Linked DNA regions of Homo sapiens: regions 2, 3 and 4 are each linked to region 1. Evidence: promoter capture Hi-C in human tissues and cell types (Jung and others, 2019). All regions are on one chromosome and are shown on one strand. Each heading gives the region's core, a stretch centred on a gene start or on the middle of the fragment in contact. The rest is flanking DNA. Distances are from core to core; before and after follow the strand shown. Region 1 holds the start of SORCS3 (sortilin related VPS10 domain containing receptor 3). Region 2 overlaps SORCS3 (sortilin related VPS10 domain containing receptor 3). Region 3 overlaps ITPRIP (inositol 1,4,5-trisphosphate receptor interacting protein). Region 4 overlaps SORCS3 (sortilin related VPS10 domain containing receptor 3).

The links. The method cuts DNA at HindIII sites, captures the fragments that hold promoters and counts their contacts. A contact is called where the count stands out against the background at its distance.
Region 2: a contact is called between a fragment that was not itself captured here and the fragment with the promoter of SORCS3 in region 1, in 1 of the 25 tissues and cell types used here (lymphoblastoid cells).
Region 3: a contact is called between a fragment that was not itself captured here and the fragment with the promoter of SORCS3 in region 1, in 1 of the 25 tissues and cell types used here (mesendoderm cells).
Region 4: a fragment that was not itself captured here is called in contact with the fragment with the promoter of SORCS3 in region 1 in 1 of the 25 tissues and cell types used here (dorsolateral prefrontal cortex).

What each region holds. Positions count from the first base shown.
Region 1 is chr10:104,639,693-104,642,718 of GRCh38, reverse strand. It overlaps SORCS3 (sortilin related VPS10 domain containing receptor 3), which reads right to left and starts at 1,429. Exons shown (of 27, transcript NM_014978.3): 1 at 765-1,429. The coding sequence starts at 1,391. The HindIII fragment of the contact is 5,425 bases long and covers 1-3,026 here.
Region 2 is chr10:105,058,570-105,061,595 of GRCh38, reverse strand. All of the region lies in intron 5 of SORCS3 (sortilin related VPS10 domain containing receptor 3), which reads right to left. Among named protein-coding and RNA genes, the nearest start is that of SORCS3-AS1, 390 kb to the right of the region's middle. The HindIII fragment of the contact is 6,011 bases long and covers 1-3,026 here.
Region 3 is chr10:104,320,217-104,323,242 of GRCh38, reverse strand. All of the region lies in intron 1 of ITPRIP (inositol 1,4,5-trisphosphate receptor interacting protein), which reads left to right. Among named protein-coding and RNA genes, the nearest start is that of ITPRIP-AS1, 1.6 kb to the left of the region's middle. The HindIII fragment of the contact is 8,518 bases long and covers 1-3,026 here.
Region 4 is chr10:104,906,898-104,909,923 of GRCh38, reverse strand. The region is part of intron 2 of SORCS3 (sortilin related VPS10 domain containing receptor 3); the gene reads right to left. Among named protein-coding and RNA genes, the nearest start is that of SORCS3-AS1, 240 kb to the right of the region's middle. The HindIII fragment of the contact is 5,097 bases long and covers 1-3,026 here.

The sequences.
Region 1 (3,026 bases), core at 180-2,679:
AGAGTTTTCTGCTGAGCGACTTCCGTGTGCCTGTGCGTGCGTGAGGGCGAGCGGTGTGGCATGAGCGCTGGATGGGTGTGGAATTTCGCTTCACGCTTTAAACTTTTTTTTACGGCCTCTGCTACGGCTTTCCAGGGCCGCTCCCTGGACTTTGAAGGAGGAACCGGGGTTACCTGAAGGCCAAGGCTGGGGGCCGACTTGGCCGAGCCTCCCTCTTGGGCTGGAGGACTGCGCGCCTGGAGCGGATAGCAGCGACCCCGAGGCGAGCAGGAGGCTGGGAGTCCGAATGGCCTTCCGGGTTCCCTTTCGCGTGACGGGAGGGGGGGTGGGGGTGGGGTGGGGGTAGGGGGAGCCCGGCAGCCGCAGGAATCGGTCTGTTCAGCGGCTCCCGCCCCAAGTCAGCCCTTTTTCTCATCCAAGAATTCAAGCACCCCGCAAACAGGAAAACTGACCCTCCAAGCCAAGTATTGGAGAAAGTGAGCACAGATCCCTCCCCCACTCATCTTTAAGAAGCCCCTTCCTCCACTCCCCTCCCGGCGGCCGAAGCCTAGGGTCTCCAGTAAACAAACACACACAGCGTCTAACAACAAACTCCGTTAACCTGTTGGGGGCGTGGGGGGAATCGGACAAACCTGTTATCTCGAAAAGTCGAGGCGTCCCCCGCCTCGACCCCCGAGCAACTATCTGTCCCTCGCTCCCACCCACCCCCCCATTCCCCTTCGGTGTCAGGAAACAGGCGGACCCGCCGCCGGGTGGGTACTCACGCTGCTGTTGTGTCCCGACCAGTGCACCATGGCTTGGTTGTGGGCCGAGTCCCCGGTCAGCGCGAAGGAGGTGCTGGGCAGCCGGAGGTCTTCAGCCGCCGACCCCCCAGCCCGCGGCGCCTTCACCTCCTCCCGGGAACCCTTAGCAAGGGGACGGCTTCCTCTGGAACCATCGGCCGGAGCAGTGGCCCAGGCGTCCCCGCGTTCCTGGGTGATTGGGGGCTGCGCCCGGCGACTCCTCCTCGCGCCGCCAAGCTTGGCAGGAGCTGGGATGCCCCGGCCCCGCCGCTCGCCTGCCGGTGATGTCCCTCCGGCTTCCACCTGCATCTCACCGCCTCTGCCGCCGCCCTGCTGGGGCAGCAGCTCTGGTCCGGCCCGGCGCCCCAGCACGGCGGCTCTCCGCGCCGACGCCAGCTCCTCCGGCCACTGGCTGGCCACTGCCCGCGGCGAGAGTGGAGACAACGCCGGTGGCCGCGAAGCCGGGGCCGCCGGGCGTCCGGGACCGCCTGTCGCGTCCCAAGTGATCTCGGCGCCGGCCAGGACCCACGTCGACAAGAGTAGGAGCCCCGTCCGGACAAGCGGCGCCCCCGGCCTGCCTGCGGGGCGCTCCGTGCGCGCCGCCTCCATCCCGCTGCGGCTACCGCGGCTCGGGCTGCCGAGTGTGTGGCGCCCGCCGAGGTGCGGGTCCGGCGCGGGGGGTGTGCGCGCGCCGGCGAGCGAGCGAGCGTGTGTGTGTAGGGGGAGTGGGGAGGGGGCGGCCGGGAAGGAGGTGGCTCCGGCTGGCGCGCCTCGCCGGTCCTCTCCACTCTTCCCTCCTAGCTCCCGCTCGCCCGTTCTCTTGTCCAGAGGGTGATTCCAAACCCGAGGAAAATTAATAATTGCCCCTTCGGTGCTTTCTTTCTTAAAATCAGATTCCCCCCAATCCTCCCCACTGAGCTCCTCCAGAAATTTGGTAAAAAGGAGTAATCAAAGGTAATAAGAAAATCTTCTTAAAATATGAAAATCAAGCCGGATCCAGGAGGGGCCGGCAATAGACCCCAATCCCGAGTCTCTCCGAAATCCAGCCTCCAACGTGCTCCCGGCGAAGAGTTGGGAGCCGCTTCTGGACGCGTTTGGGGGTTTACTCTTCGGGCCTGTTATGAGGGGCGGGAGATGGCGCGCGGGGAGGGTACAGGGGTCTCGGGGGAGAAGGAGGAGGAGTTGTGTGCTCAACGCCAACTGTTCGCGTTCTAGAGCCGAGAGGGAGCCAGGTGCCTCCGCGCGGGGAGGCTGCGCACGGAAGCCAAGCGCGGGATGCACCCTGGACTCTGCTCGCCGCTCCCTGGCCCGGCCGGCTCCCGGCCAAACCCCGCCACCCAAGGCCTGCGCCCCCGCGCGGGGGCGTGGGGAATGCGTGCGTGCGCGTGCGTGCGCGCAGGCAGGCGGGCGTGAGGCGAGGGGTTCGCAGGGGGCCGGCGGGCAGACCGGGCGCTGCCGCGTGGGGGCACCTGGCTGAGCCGGGCCGGGAGCGCGGCTGGGTGTGAGGGGGCGCGCGGTTCCGTGCGTGCGCGTTTGCACGAGCATGTGTGCACGTTAGTGTGAGCGATGGCAAGTGGGGCGGGGGCGGGAGGTGTGCGCTCGGCTTTTGGTCGCGTGCGGATCACGCACGGGCTGTGTTTGCATTTCCAGGAGCCTGCGAGTGGTCAAAGAGGCAATGCTGAGAACTAGGCAGGCCGCTCTCGGCAGCCCCCTCCTCTTGGCGCCCCGAGCACCCACGGCCCCCACTACAAGCGGTTAGAACCTGATAAAGCCTCCTAGGGGATGAGGGAAAAGAGGCGGAAGGCCCCGGTGGGATCGGGGACTTGCCAGATCTTCTCGGTTGAGGGATTCTCCTTGCCCCGACCTCCCGGCCAGAGGTGGGGCGAGAGAGTAGTCGAGATGTCTGTTCTTCCAGGGAGGATCCAGACCTCATTTTGCTGCCTAGGATTTTGAGGTCGTGCCCTCACTCTCCCCAGTCCGTTTCTGAACGGACTCAATTGTTTCAAAGTGTCGGCCGCCAGTTAAGAGGGTACTCAGGCGGGAGCCGCGTGGGCTTATCTGGTCCCCAATCCGCTACTGCAGGAGTGTAGCCTGCGCGCTTGGTGCAGCTGAGATCCTTCGTGACCGTAGGAAGAAGGAGACTTCAGGTGGGCTGAAGGGAAATGAGCTAAACCCACAGACGACCTCGAGCTGCGGTTTACAGGCCCCAGGACATGTGGTGTAGCTCGCCGCCTCCGAGAAGCC
Region 2 (3,026 bases), core at 388-2,887, 420 kb before region 1:
GGGCCAGGCGCAGTGACTCATGCCTTTAATCCAAGCACTTTGGGGGGCCGAGGCAGGTGGATCACGAGGTCAGGAGATCGAGAGCATCCTGGCTAACACGGTGAAACCCTGTCTCTACTAAGAAATACAAAAAATTAGCCAGGTGTGGTGGCAGGCGCCTGTAGTCTCAGCTACTTGGGAGGCTGAGGCAGAAGAATGGCATGAACCTGGGAGGCGGAGCTTGTAGTGAGCCAAGATTGCACCACTGCACTCCAGCCTGGGTGACAGAGCGAGACTCCACCTCAAAAAAAAAAAAAAAAAGGAACACCACTTAAAACATCTCTCCCACCCTACCTCACCCCCACAAAACAAACACAAAACTACTCAGAGAACTTTCTTCAGTGCTTTCTTACCCTGGGAGAAATGATACCTAAGTCCAGAGCACAGCTTTCCAACAAATGTGTAAATATTATGCTGAATTTGAGCCCTTGTTTAAAAAATTATTTGTAAAGTCTATAAATTGGTGGCCACCATAACTTGTGAATTTGTTTCCAAGTAGAACTCTAGTTTCTAGATGTTACACATTACAGGAAACATTTTAAGACTGCAAACGAATTTGAATTTATTTTCTATACTTAAATTGTTTTTAACTTTTTTGTTTGTTTTTTTTTTTTGTTTTAAGACGGAGTTTCACTCTTGTTGGCCAGGCTGGAGTGCAATGGCGTGATCTCAGCTCACCACAACCTCCGCCTCCCGGGTTGAAGGGATTCTCCTGTCTCAGGCTCCCGAGTAGCTGGGATTATAGGCATGTGCCACCATGCCCAGCTAATTTTATATTTTTAATAGAGACGGGGTTTCTCCATGTTGGTCAGGCTGGTCTTGAACTCCTGACCTAGGTGATCCGCCTGCCTCAGCATCCCAAAGTGCTAGGATTACAGGTTTGAGCCACCGCGCCCAGACTTTTTAACTTTTTTAAATTGCAAACCACATCTTCTAGAATTCCCTGGATTTCCATCTTCTCTTTCCAGGACTCACTGCCCCCAGTAATGAATAGCCTTTTAATTGGCCACCTCGTCCCCAGCTCTTCCTTGTGTAATTTGCCCTTCACCCTGCTGTAAAAATGAGCTTCCTAAAGACCAGTCCTGAGCATGCTCTGCCCCTGAGTGGAACCCTTTAAAGGTGCACTGTATTAACTGCAAAATCTTTAGCCTGGCATTTAAAGCCTCTAAGTTATCACTTTAATCTTCTTTTCTAGGCTTATCGGCCAATCTCTCTCTCTCCAAGCATAGAATCCGAACTTCTTGACAGACTGACCTACTAACAATTTCCTAAACACACCTCATGCTTTTCTGTTTCTCTTCTTTCTCCTTCCTGTGACTGAAATGTCCGCCATTACCCACCATGCCAGAGGATCCACAAGCACGCACACAAGCTTGCCTGTTGAAATTGAAACCATCTTTCAAACCCCCCTCAAATTCCAACTCCTCCATGAACACATTACTGATGCCACTCCTCTGACACCTCTATCACAGGCTGTATCTGTCTCCTGGTACCTAACAATCCTTTGTATCAGCCATTTGTCCAGTTGTCTCAACTTGTCTTTGTCCTACTGTATCAGCTTAGCTTTTGCTGCATAATAAACTACCTCAACATTCAGCAGCTTAAACCAACAGTTATGTATTTTGCTGGTACATCTAAGGCCAGCTGGGATCAGCTTTTCTAGGCTGGGCTCAATGCGAGGCTCTGCTTCATGCTATGAATCCAGCAGAGCTTGGCATCCCATAGAGGGGAAGGCTCAGGTTGCTCTGTGGGTTCGTGATGGGGCCTGGGGTGAGGGGCCACAGCTACAGTGCAATGACAGAGCTTCCGCTTGTGTCACATTTGCTAAACTCAGCCAAAGCAAGTCACATGGATGATCCCAAGCCAAGGGATTGGGGAAATTCTCACTGCATACAGTGGAAAAACACTGAGAGTCCCATGGCAATGGGCTTGAATGCATAATTTATTACCTTAGAGAGAGTCAGAAATTGGAACAACCCCTACCTACCGTCCTTCATATCCCTTTCTATGTATACACTGTTCAAAGAGTAGGGACTCAAAAGTGTCTTTTCAATGGAATTCCTAAGTACATCTAAACAGGCATAGATAAAATCAGTAACCTCATTCATGTCATAATGTTAATAAAAACTACAGGCATTATTTTAATAAAGTCTAAAACAATATAGCATTTTACAGTTATGAAGCATTTTAAAGATTCTTTGCAGCCTGCAAAGCACACGGAAGTATATTATCTCATCTAGCAGGGAGTGTATGTATTTTGAAAAGATGCCTGGAGGTGCCAATGTCTTCATTGGTTGGAACAACCCTTTCCACTGTGTATTTCAAGCACGGTGGAGAAAAGAGGGGGTTTTTGATAAGGGGGAACCAGTTTGTACTACTCAAAGGGGAACACCTGGGACTCCACTAATTTGTCTCCCTGGTTTTCAAAATGACCTCTTAACTACCTCCTCTGGTTCTCAAAATCTAGTGTACAAAGGCATTGCCAGGAGAGCTTGTTCAGATGGAGATTCCTGAGGCCCAGGTCCAGAGATCCAGAGCAGGGATTTCCAGGTGGGGCCGAAGAAACTATCGGCATTTTTAAAATTTCTTTTTATTTGTGCAAAGTTGTGGGGTACATAATTTTTACATGTATATGATGCATAGTGACTGAGGATATTTAGGGCATCCCTCACCCAAGTACAATATATTTTTTAAGTATAGTTATTCTACTCTATTCTATTGAACATTGCATTTATTCCTTCTATCTAGAGTCTGCATTTTTAGCAAGCACCTCAGGTATTCACTGCCGGTTCTCCCTTGGTCATCACCCCTTTGAATTTTACAGATGAGGATGCAGAAAGCCAGAGAAATCCTACTAGTGCCCCAAGGCCTGGCTGCCCAGTGGCAGGAGTAGAATTAGCAACCAGAAGTCCTGTCTCCTACTCCAATGCTCTTTCCATTACACTGCAGAGTCCATGAAGTGTTTTCTTCTCCCTAACCTGTTGAGT
Region 3 (3,026 bases), core at 269-2,768, 320 kb after region 1:
CTTCCTAAATGGCTGGTCATGTAAACATCTTCACCTTTCACCACCCTTCCCCTGTTCTGTGCTGGAATCACTGCCAGGTGCTCCCTGGGAGGGTCCACGGGATGATACCCAGCCTGCCTCTTCTACTCCACCCACCCTCCAGGCCTAGCATGTCTTCTCTTGAGGCCTCGGTTTCTACCTCTGTAAAATAAAGAAACCTAAATTCAACTCTATATTCTGACTTTCTTAAATATTTGGCTTGATTTCCCCCCAACAACTGTGTACCTCATCAGCTGGGGCTGAGAAACTGCAGCACAAGGCCAGGATACAGAAGGAGTTCAGCCCAAACTCATGGCAGTTTGGGCCTCCCTTGGCTCCTTCTTTCTTGGAGGACCCAGAACCTAGTGAAAGGGACCCAAGTCACCCCCAAGGCCTCGGCTAAAAGTGCCCTCCCCTGCCCTCAGCCAGTCCTTTATTCCATTTCGTAAAGGAAACCTATCAGCTACTCCTTTTGGCTCTGAACGTGACGCCAGGGCCAGGCCTTCTTTTGCTGTTGTAATTAGCAGAGCTAATTGCATCTGTCAGGCTGTGTGCTGGGCAAGCCCTTGGCAATTTCCAGGATGTGGGCTGCTGTGACACTGCAGGAGCCCCACCCTCCTACCCAGAGGACGCCTGGTTTGGGAAGGGATGGTTCTCAGACATAAGCGGGCATTAGAATGACCTAGAGGGCTTGTTGAGACACAGATACTGGGCCCAGCCCTGGCATTTCTGATCAGCGGGTTTCAGGTTGCCTGTGAAAATTTGCATTTGTAACAAGTTGCCAGGTGGCACTGTTGCTGCTAAGCACGTTGAGAACCACTGTCCCAGAGGGAATACCAGGTGGCCAAGAAATGGGTCCTGGGCACCCCTGCTGCTTAAGGCTGTGGTCAGTCAACCCTCAGTGGGAGTAGATGGGCAGTGGGGCAAAAGCGGTGTGATGAACAGGTTGTGGGGCCGGACACATGCTCCTACTGTTCCTGGTTGGTTGTAGTAATTCTGTCTGGAAGGAGAGGAGGAGGTGAAGGTGGAGCCAAGGAGTTGCACACTGACATCTCCCCAACAGGTGAGGGCAGGGAGAGCTCCAGACAGGGAGAGGCCTTCAGAGAACAGGAAGGAAGCTCCCTCCCTCCTCTGCATTTTGCAGCCTGTAGCTCACGTGCCTTTTATGCCCCACATCTCATTCTGTCTGGGGACTCCATACGTAGTGGCTGTCTACCTTCCCGCGTGGATTGTAATGCTTTTGCTACCAGGGGTCAGGCCATACTCATCACTGCAGGCCCTGAAGCATCCATCATGTTCCTCGAGCTCAGTATGTGCTCCGTACATGTAGCACAGTGGAAAAACTTGAGCTTTGCTGGCAAAGACAGACAGAATGAGCTTGAATCTCAGCCCAGCTATGGCTTTTCTAGTCCTGTGGCTAGAAAATGACTTAGCCTCTTGGACTTTGGTTAACCCATCTGCAAAACAGGGATGGCACCCACCTCTTAGAAAGTTACAGTGGTCAAAAAAAAAAAAAAAAAAGAAAAGAAAAGAAACTTACAGTGGTTAGTGTGTGCAGTGCCCAGCACATCCTAGTGAGGGCTCGAGAAATGGGAGAGCTATGGGTGTTAGGCAATGCTTTGTGGTGTTTATTGGATTAAGCTATGGTGGGGAGTGCTGCAGGCTCTGGGGGACCCAGGAGTGAGGGACCCCAGTGAAGGAAGGAAGCCTTGGATTTCTCCCAGGGTCTTGGCTTCCGGCCAGCCTCACAGTAAAGGTCTGAATAAACCACTGGTCCCAGCCAGCCACCTGCAGCCCTCTGTCCGGGCCACCCAGAAGCTTCCATCTTCCCTCAGCCCCTGTTGCCCCGTGACTCCAGCGTTGCCAGGCTAAGTTTAGCTGTGAACTGCATGGGCCGCCCCTCTCTGTGGACAAGGGCAGAGGTGGAGAGGAATTCAGCAGGCTTCCTGGCAAGCAGACAGAAAAAAGCCCGCCAAGTGACCCAGGTTTATTCTCAAAGCCAAACCCACCAGCTGATGTCTCAGACCACAGGTGCGGGAGAGCCTGGTAGAGGTGAGAACTTTGGGCCAAGGCAGAGGTGGACATCCTTGGAATTGGGAGTAGGGGACTCTTTGGGGAGGCATGTGCTGGTATGTGCAAGAACATGCACACATATACACATATCCATGGTTTGTGAGAGGCTCCTCACTACCCGTCCTGTCTCAGAATGTCAGAATGCCCTGTTTCCTTCCCTTTTGTGGACAAGTCAACTCTATACAATATTTGAAGGGATTTATTCTGAACCCATCTGAATGACCAAGGCCTGAGGCACAGTCCCAAGAGATCCTGAAAATATGTGCCCCAGACAGTTGGGTTACAGCTTGATGTTACACATTTTAGGGGGACAGAAGTTACAGGCAGGCCAGGTGCTCACACCTGTAATCCCAGCACTTGTGATCCCAGGCAGATCACTTGAGGTCAGGAGTTCGAGACCAGCCTGGCCAACATGGTGAAAACCTGTCTCTACTAGAAATATAAAAATTAGCCGGGCATGGTGGGGCATGCCTGTAGTCCCAGCTACTCAGGAGGCTGAGGCAGGAGAATTGCTTGAACCTGGGAGGCAGAGGTTGCAGTAAGCTGAGATCCCTCCACTGCACTCTAGCCCAGGCGACAGAGTGAGACTTAGTCTCAAAAAAAAAAAAAAAAAAAATTACAGGCAGACCTCCATCAATGCATGTGTAAGGAATATGTTAGTTTGGTGTGGAAAGATGGGACAACTTGAAGTGAGGGCAAGGAGTGGCTTCCTGGTCATAGGTGGATTCAAAGATTTTCTGACTGGCAATTGGTTGAACGAGTTAAGTTATTATCTAAAGACCTGGAATCAGTAGAAAGGAGTGTCTAGGATAAGGGGTATGGAGACCATGGTTCTTACTATGTAGCTGAAGTCCCAGGAAGCGAGTTTCAGAGACAGGAGATGGTAAGTGTCTGTCAAACCTAAAAAGGTGCCAGACCCTTAGTTCATCTCTCCT
Region 4 (3,026 bases), core at 322-2,821, 270 kb before region 1:
TCAGTCAGGAGTGGAGGTGTGAGTTATCGTATGCTTTTTACCTACCCAGCAAGTTCACTACTCCTCTAGTGATCTTCTCGGGGAGAGGCTGGTGGCAATAAGAATATGGGCTATTTTAAAAGAAAAAAAAAAAAACAGAAAAGACATCCAGTCGATGCAGCCAAGTCAGCCTCTCAGTAGAGCTGAACTGCAGCTCAACCTCCCTGTCCTAATGCCCCATTCTGGCCAGAGATAGACACTCTGCCAGCTCTCACGGGGCCATCTGATGTTCTCAATCTGGGTGAGCACATGGCTTTCCTTATCCAGTCAGCACCTTCTTCTGGTGTTTACCACCCTGGTCCTCAGTCCTCTCCTCATTTCTTCTCCTCTTCTTGCCCCTGAGCTCTGCAAAATTAAGGATCATTAACCCTGGCATCTTTCACCAGTCAGAAGTCATCTCCTCAGTGGCCTGCCTTCTGAGGGATACAATCTAAAACTGGCAAACAATCTAAAATTGGCAAACAACCACAGTTGTGGTTGTTCCTTTCCTCTCAGCAACTTCTGCGTTGCCATGTTTGGCTCATTCCTTTGCATATATTTATCAACCACGGCATCTGACATGGGCTAGGCACACTGTGCTTTGCTTCCCCTTTCCGGCCATTTAAAGTAGCTCTAGCTCAGGTTGGCAAACTTTTTTTTCCTGTAAAACAACCAGATAGTAAATATTTTGGGTTTTGTGGACCTCCGCCACAACTACTCAACTCTGACCTTTTGCAGCTCCAAACAAGCCAAGCACAATAGCAAAATGAAAGGGTGCTTTTGCAAAAGCAGGAGGGGTATGATTTGGTGGTGCTGCTCTAGCTGGTATCAGCTAGAGGTAGAGAATATCAGCCTCCACCTCTGTCCCACCCCCGAGTCATGTTCTCACCCTGCTTTTGTCTCTAAGACAACTTCTCAAGATTTCTGCCTGGATCTCTGATACCCTAGAGCATCCTTCCCTGCCTGGCTGCCACATCAGGTCAAACATCTGCCTCTGTCTGGCATTCAAGGCCTTCGTAGTTTACCTGCTTTGCTTTACCATTGCCTCCAATGTTCAGATTGTCTCCTTTTTTACTCCCAGCTCCAGTACTCATTGTACTACAAAGATCTTTCCTATAATTCCCACCCACGCCCTCCTCTGCATTTACACCAATTGCACCTAAGAGCTCCCTATTTATTCTCTGAATATACATGTGTGCTTTTGATATTTTCAGCAATTGCTAAAAGCTTCTCAAAAGAACAGTCACAAATGAATTTTTTTTTTAATTTCTGAAAGTGCAGAGCACAGTTCTACATAAAGAAAACAAGCAGACTGGAGTAGTACAAAGACAACTAGACTCAGAGCCAGATCTAGCTGTGCAAGCTTTTCATGTCTCTGAACCTCAGCTCAGACAATAGAGTTGTTGTTATTCAGATTCAATGAAGAGTAATAAGATACCTAGCTTAGCATCTGCTAAAAGCCCTTGTTCCATAAATGCTTATGGCTGTCATTTTTATGAATACCCCTGATTGTATTGTCCTCAAGGGAAATCACCTTGTTTTCTTTTTCTTGATTTGCACTACTTACACTTAATAGGGGTGAGGCACACGGATACCCAATAAATCATTAAAGGATCTGTGGACACTGTTTCCAATTGTCACCATAAGTGTATGATAAGACCCAGTTGCCTGGAGAATCAAAAGATACAACTATGCTTCCAAGTGCCAGGCCTTGGGGAGCACCCACTAGCAGCTCCTTCAGGTGTACTCCACTGAGATACACTGAGGATTGTCAACAATCAAAGACCATAGGCTATTAGGTGCTCTGGTGTGTGGTGAACCACAGCCCATTCCAAGGTCAGCGTCAGGAGTTCCCACAGCACAGCTCCAGACCAAAGACTTCTCAGAGAGTTGTGATGGAAAAGCATTAATGTTTCCCTCTGGCCTATTCCACTCCTCATTTTAGGGCCAGTGCCCAAAGTCACATTAATCTGTATCTTTGCAATGGCAGAAGCCCAGCCTGACCACAAATAACCATCCAGATAACTAATTTCAGACCTCAAGCCAAAAGTAAGTCATTTAAACAGCTTCATTCTCCAAGTGGGTATTGCCCCACCCTCTGCTTCAGAAACTCCACAGGAAGGTTGATGCCAGTGCAGAAGCTTACACAGCTCTCCCTGACCTCTTTTTACCCAACTCATGGCTGCATTGTTTAGTCTCACAAAGAGAGGCACAATGATACAGGATAATTAATTCGTCTCTATTTCCTCCTGCCCCCACTATTTGAATGAGAGCCATCACCGGTTCTAAATGCGGAAAATTGGAGGTTTGCTGTCTTTGGAGACCAGTCATGCAGAATTCATGGTTCGGATCAGATAAGTTGTAGACCCACCAGCAGCAGCTTCCCAGCACACGTCTCAGGTAGGACAGAGGCTGAAGTATATGGGGTTGGGCCAATATTCAGATCTTCAGTTTCTTTCTTTTCCTTTCTTTATTTGGTGTGAACACATTAGTTCTCACTGAAGACCTTCAGTTCAGAAAATAGGATGGTGAGTTGTTATATTTAGGTTTTAAAATGCCAAAAACTCTAACCTATCAGGCAAAAGACCTATTTGTATCATGCACGTAAGGGAAGGAAAGAAGCCCTCCAGGGAAAAGAAAGTGCACAAACAGGCCCATGAGAAGGTATGACAGCCCATAATTCACTGCATCTCTGTTGATATGAACATAACTGAATAACAATTATCAGGGAAAGGCTAAATAGAGTGTATTACACACACACACACACACACACACACAGTACTATACAGCAGCATTCAAGAGTAAGACAGATACCAGAGTTATTGACCTGAAAAGTCTCTAAGACATAATACTAAATATATTACACACACACAGTATATCCAGACACAACAAGGCAATACATTTCCATTAAGTTTATAAGCGTGTAAACAAATACATATAAAATCTAGTGGAAAATATATAAAACTACTAATAGAAGTTACCACTGGGTAGGGAACCGGGGTGGGCTG